2 separate regions of the Homo sapiens genome follow, and region 1 is linked to region 2. The links are contacts of gene promoters, found by promoter capture Hi-C in blood cells and fetal thymus (Javierre and others, 2016). All regions are on one chromosome and are shown on one strand. Each heading gives the region's core, a stretch centred on a gene start or on the middle of the fragment in contact. The rest is flanking DNA. Distances are from core to core; before and after follow the strand shown.

What was found. The method cuts DNA at HindIII sites, captures the fragments that hold promoters and counts their contacts. A CHiCAGO score of 5 or more calls a contact.
Region 1: a contact is called between a fragment that was not itself captured here and the fragment with the promoter of MDFIC in region 2, in 3 of 17 cell types (total B cells, M1 macrophages and naive B cells). The highest score is 6.7, in total B cells.

The regions. Positions count from the first base shown.
Region 1 is chr7:115,475,931-115,478,630 of GRCh38, reverse strand. No RefSeq gene overlaps it. Among named protein-coding and RNA genes, the nearest start is that of SNORA25B, 100 kb to the left of the region's middle. The HindIII fragment of the contact is 3,063 bases long and covers 1-2,700 here.
Region 2 is chr7:114,920,742-114,923,461 of GRCh38, reverse strand. It overlaps MDFIC (MyoD family inhibitor domain containing), which reads right to left and starts at 1,368. Exons shown (of 5, transcript NM_001166345.3): 1 at 826-1,368; 2 at 335-535. The coding sequence starts at 428. RefSeq lists silencers at 349-488, 719-898, 909-958, 1,289-1,428. The HindIII fragment of the contact is 10,461 bases long and covers 311-2,720 here.

The DNA of each region.
Region 1 (2,700 bases), core at 177-2,676, 560 kb before region 2:
GAGAATTCCACAGATGACAAAGAGAAAAGCAAGAATTATATATAAAAACAAGAGCAACTTCATCCAAAAATAACTCCACAATTATTCCTAATATTTTATTGAATATAGTTGTCTTATGATTCCACAAGATTGTACAGATTTTGCATTTTCACTAGATTATGTAACTTAAAATTAACCCTTTGGTAATGGAATATGTTTGAGAAACAATATGGAATCTGTCTTATTTTCAGGAGCATTATTGAATTTGTAGATAAGCTACACGAAAACAATCAGTGTTATGAGTTATTATCTTACAAATTATATATCATTCACATGCAATAAGTGAAATATTTCTCATTTTAAATTTCAATAGTTAAAATTTAGAATTTCAAATTGTATAGGAAGAGAATGCCAAATTATGGCAAAACTTGTGCAGAAATACAAGAAATTAGAAATCAAAGGGGACTTTAGGACATCTAAATTTTCTCACACATATCTACTTGAATGAATAAACTTAGTAATGCAGAATAAGGAAAAAAGCAAACTCTAAGATTAAGTGCCGATGACAGTATGTTATTTGATAATCAGTTAAGACCATTTCCTCTTCCATTCAAAACTTTAAAAAAATGAAAGAAATGTTTCTCTATTTCTTCCTCAATGGAACAAGGAGCATCACCTCTCCTTATTTCCCCGAGGTACAGAAAATAGTAAAGAGCAAATTAGTTCTCTCAGCCTAAAAAAAATACAATTTTATAGTTATAAAGTGTTTTCAATAACAAACGTGTTCCGCAGATAATTCCGAGGACATCGAATTTTGATCTTTAGAGTCTCAAGGCAAAAAGCTCAGAGCACTGTTAGTCAAGGGCGCCCAGATGAGCTGCTTTGGGGGACCCTCTTTGCCCCCAGTGCCCTTCTAAAGAGCATTGCCTTCGTCAGCCCCAGGCTAGCCCTCCTTAGCCTCTCCGAAGGCTTCTCCGCAGATCTCTTTTTCCGCCCCCCCCCCCCCAGCTCAACCCCACCAACCCTTAGGACCCCGCCTTGTCCCCTGCCTTCCCGCCCCTTCCCTGTCCACGCCCGCTGGGCTTCGCTGCGCGCCTCCAGGGACGCGGGCTGCACCGAGACTCCACTGCGCCGCGCGGCCCAGAGAGAAGTTAACTTGGAGCGCAGGAGCTTTTCTCGGGATCTCCACGGAGGCAGCCGAGACGCCTCAACCCTCCCGTCTCGGCTCCTTTTTGGGGAGTGCAAGCCTGGGACGGGGCACTTGGAATAAACCCACCGACCGAGCTGGGCCCCCAGAGTCTTTCAGGCCCCTCAACTCTCCTCCAGGCGCCCCAGTACCCGTTCTGCCCCCCAGCACCTTCTTTAGCTCACGTCTGGCGGCTCGCTCTTGTCCTGGAGAGGAGTCTGACCCCACCTCGGTGGTGAAGTTTACATTCTAAATTAGTTAATTGGTCTTTAAAAGATTTCCAAACACACCAAAGCTCTTTATCTACTTTCTATTTCAAAACTCTGTCTCCCTTTTTCCCTCCCTCCTTCCTTTTCATTTTCTCTTTCTCTCGCCCACCCTCCACCCCACCCCCCCACACACTATTTATTGGTTACAAAATCCCGTAGAAGTGTAATACACACACAGACACACACCCAGCCCCGCTGCTCTTTTAGTGCCTGTGACCTTGAAGCCGTGATGAGCCAGGGAGACGCTGCAAATGTACAGGCTCCACCAGATGAGGGACTTTGATGCTGGGGGGAGCTCTGGGGTCAAGCGCAGAAAGGGGAAATAAATGGTAAAATCACTGTCTCTAGACTCCTCAGATAAAATGGAAACAAGCACTTGGCATTTTCAGTACTGACAACCTGGCTTGTTTGTTCACTCTAATGAGCACTCTGGCTCCATTAATGAGCAGACTGAATCCATTATCATCATCATTTCAAAAGGCAGCGTGCCACTAAATAGCTTCCCATATTAGCAGGCATTGCCCTTGTTGTTCCATTTGATCAGCAGTGGCAGCAGGGAGCCCGCTGCACTCCCATTTTTTTTTTTCAGCTGGGAAATTAGCAAGTGAAAATTAGTCCCCTCAAAAAAATAAAATAAAATAAAATAAAAAAGGTACTATCGTGACCCCGAGAAAAAGCCATAATCTAGGATAACAGCGAGGTGATGAGAATTTGAGAAAGGGAGCGGTGATTTGGGAGGGGACAAAAGGAAGCCCTTTGGAATCAGCAAGTTTTTTTTTTTAATAGATAAACAGGAGTCCATGGAGAAAGGAAGACTCGTGTTTTTTTTTTTTCTTCCTTCTATCAGCACCTTTCTTGAGACATCAAAGAACCAATTAACTCTGTAGCAAATTGGGTGGCAGCGCTTACACTGGAAGGCTGTTGAGGGCAGCAAAGTCTCGCAGTGCAGCCTCTGACTGCTGGTGACAGGGCTCTCCTCCCCTCTCTCTTCTCTTTTTCTCCTTTCCTCTCTTCTCTCTTCCCCGCCTCTCCTCTCTCTTTCTTCTCTCTCTTTTCTCTGGTCTTTCCACCTTTCCTTCCTTCCTTCCTTGCTTCTTTCTTCTCTCCAGTCTCCTTCCCGCGCTCTCGCTCTTTCCCTTTTTAAACTGCAGTTCCTGAATGTATGCCATTCTCCAGACCTACGTTCTGTTCAAGGATTTTAATTAGGCCTTGACTCCACATTACTGTGTGTGCCTTTGTGGGTTGGTGAATGGCACCAGAGTGGTG
Region 2 (2,720 bases), core at 119-2,618:
GACCTAGAGGAGAAGCGCTTCAGAACCTACACATTGAGTCTTAGGCCCAAACATGCATATGCTTAAGAAAGAAGCAATCCTGTCATCCTGTTTCTTCGCAACCAAAGGAAGGGGGAGTGGAGGGACCAACGGTTCCCGCCCTCTTACCCGGTTGTTGATCTAGGGCAAGGATCCTGAAGAACTTGCCTGAGTAACGCGAACTGTGCAAAAGTTCTCAACTACGAGTGGGAGCCCCTCCTCACAGCACTCCCCCCACCCCTATCTGTGCACTTGTGAGCAAACTGAAAAATGCAACAATGACAAAGAAGCTTGCCACTTGCAAGCGCGCACTCACCCTGGGCTGTGGAGCCCAGCTGGCCGCCGCCCGCCTCGGCCACGCGCTGCGGCCCCACGGGCCCGGGAGCGAGGGCTTCGCCCGCGCCGGACATGGGCCGCTCCGCCGAGCCCGCGCCGCGCCGCTGCCGCCTAGCTCGCCGCCCGGCAGGGCGCACGGAGGAAGGGCTGTGAGGTGCTGGGTGCAGGGAACTGACTGCTTCTGGCGGAAAAATATACAAAATTAAAAAAAAAAATGTTTTTAGAGAAGAGCACACCACCCCTGCGGGACGTTCCCTCCCCCTCCACTTCCCTCCCTCAAACTCCACCCCGGGGAAGTTTTGATTTGAAACTTGCGAAGAAAACTGTTACAGCGCAAGTTGACAGCGGCGGGGTCCCAGGGGTCCGAGGTGGACCCAGCGGGGAGGGGCTGGAAAGAGAGATCGGGTTTGGGAGAACCCCGGGGATGGGGATCAAACCCCTCCTCTTCCCCGCCCGGAGACCACTACCTACCTCCGCATCCCCCCGTAGTCGCTCCAAGCCCCTTCCTCCTCCTCCTCCTCCTCTTCCGCCCCGGAAAGTTAGCGAGCCTCCGGCAGCGGCCGCATTTTCGCCCCGGTGGCCTGACGACGGCGGCGGCCGCCCCTGCGCGTCCTCCCGCCTCCCTCCGGCTCAGCCCAGACGCCGCAGTGGCGGCAACTGCGGCAGCGGTGGCGGCTCTGACTCCGCGCACTCCGCCCCCTCTTTCCAGCCAGCTCACTCCAGCCGGCTCCCCTGCGAGGGGGCCTTCCCCCTCTCTGCCTCTCTTTCCCCTCTTCCACTCCTACAATCCTGAAACACTTCTCCCTCTGTTGCTCTTTTTCATCACATCCGGATCGGGAAGGCCTCGAACTCTTGGCTAGCGGCCCCGATGCTGGGAGCGGCGCGACCCGGGCTCGGCCGCGCGATCCCTCGCGCCCTGCGCTGTCTGGGTCAGGAGGCCAGAGCCGGCCTGGGCTGGCTCGGGCTCCCCACCCGGGCGCTGCGCCCTCCCGGGGCTGGGAAAGGGGAGTGAATGGGCAGGTCCCTGGCTGCCCAGACGTTCCCCCCACCCCGCCCAAAAAGTCACCTCATCCCTTCTCCCTACTCCTGCCCCCAGACCGACGGAGGCTTTGGGAATATCCTGACGAAAACCTTTAGGGTGGACAAGGAAAAACGAAAACACTGTTACAGTATCGAACTTTCCTGGTGGGATAGAGAACGTGTGCGTTTGAAACCTTGACCCCTCGGTTGAACGTTTACTCACTTCATCTCTGGCTCCTAAATTACTCTTTGGTCAAACAGTATTCCTGATGTAAAACCAGTTGCAGTTTGCGCGAATCTGCTGGAGGCATCCAGGCAAACAAGGTTGGCACCCTTGCGGATGCCGTGGTACTGGCCCCAGCCTGGCCTATGGCAAGCTAAATGCCTCACTGGATCAGTGGTATCTGAGGGGAGATAAACTTGTGGTCGGAAGTAAAAAGCTGATCAACTTTCCGTTTATAAATGAGACATTCTGATTGTAGCTTAATCTGATGAGCCGAGGATAGCAAGTGTAAAGTAATTTACAGATATATAGTACTTTAGTGGTATACTCAGATAACTTTTGCTCTTTTATTTCATTGTGAATGAAATGCAGAATTCATTTGTAGAAAGCTAGAACGAACTCATTCTTCGATTCTTTTGGACAAGCGAGGAATCACAGTAACGTTATCAAAACTGAAGAAAATGTGCATTGGATTCACTGTCTTTCTATGTGCATCATTAATAATATCCCAGAAATTTCATTTTTTCAAAAAGCTCATTGGAATTTATTCCAATTGATTACAAAGATTTACTTGTTACCTATGAAGAGACAGTGCATTCTAACTTGATTTCAATGATGGTAAAAAAGCCAGCCTTCGGCCGGGAGCGGTGGCTCACGCCTGTAATCCCAGCACTTTGGGAGGCCGAGGCAGGTGGATCACCTGAGGTCAAGAGTTCGAGACCAGCCTGGCCAACATGGTGAAACCCAATCTCTACTAAAAATACAAATATTAGCTGAGCATTGTGGCGGGCGCCAGTAATTCTAGCTACTGGGAGGCTGAAGCAGGAGAATCGCTTGAACACAGGAGGCAAAGGTTGCAGTGAGAAGAAATTGTGCCATTGCACTCCAGCCTGGGCGACAAGAGCAAGACTCCATTTAAAAAAAAAAAAAAAAAAAAAAAAACAGCCTTCAAAGTTGCTGATGACAGTCATTCAGACCATTCTCCCCAAAAAGACAAATGACATTTTGCCCCATTACACATAACTAACATTTTTTTTTCACTTGGAGATTTCAGAAATGGTATGAAATCAAGTGCATTACCTCTCTTGAAAACTTATCTAGGAGCCTGGACTGTTTGGAATTT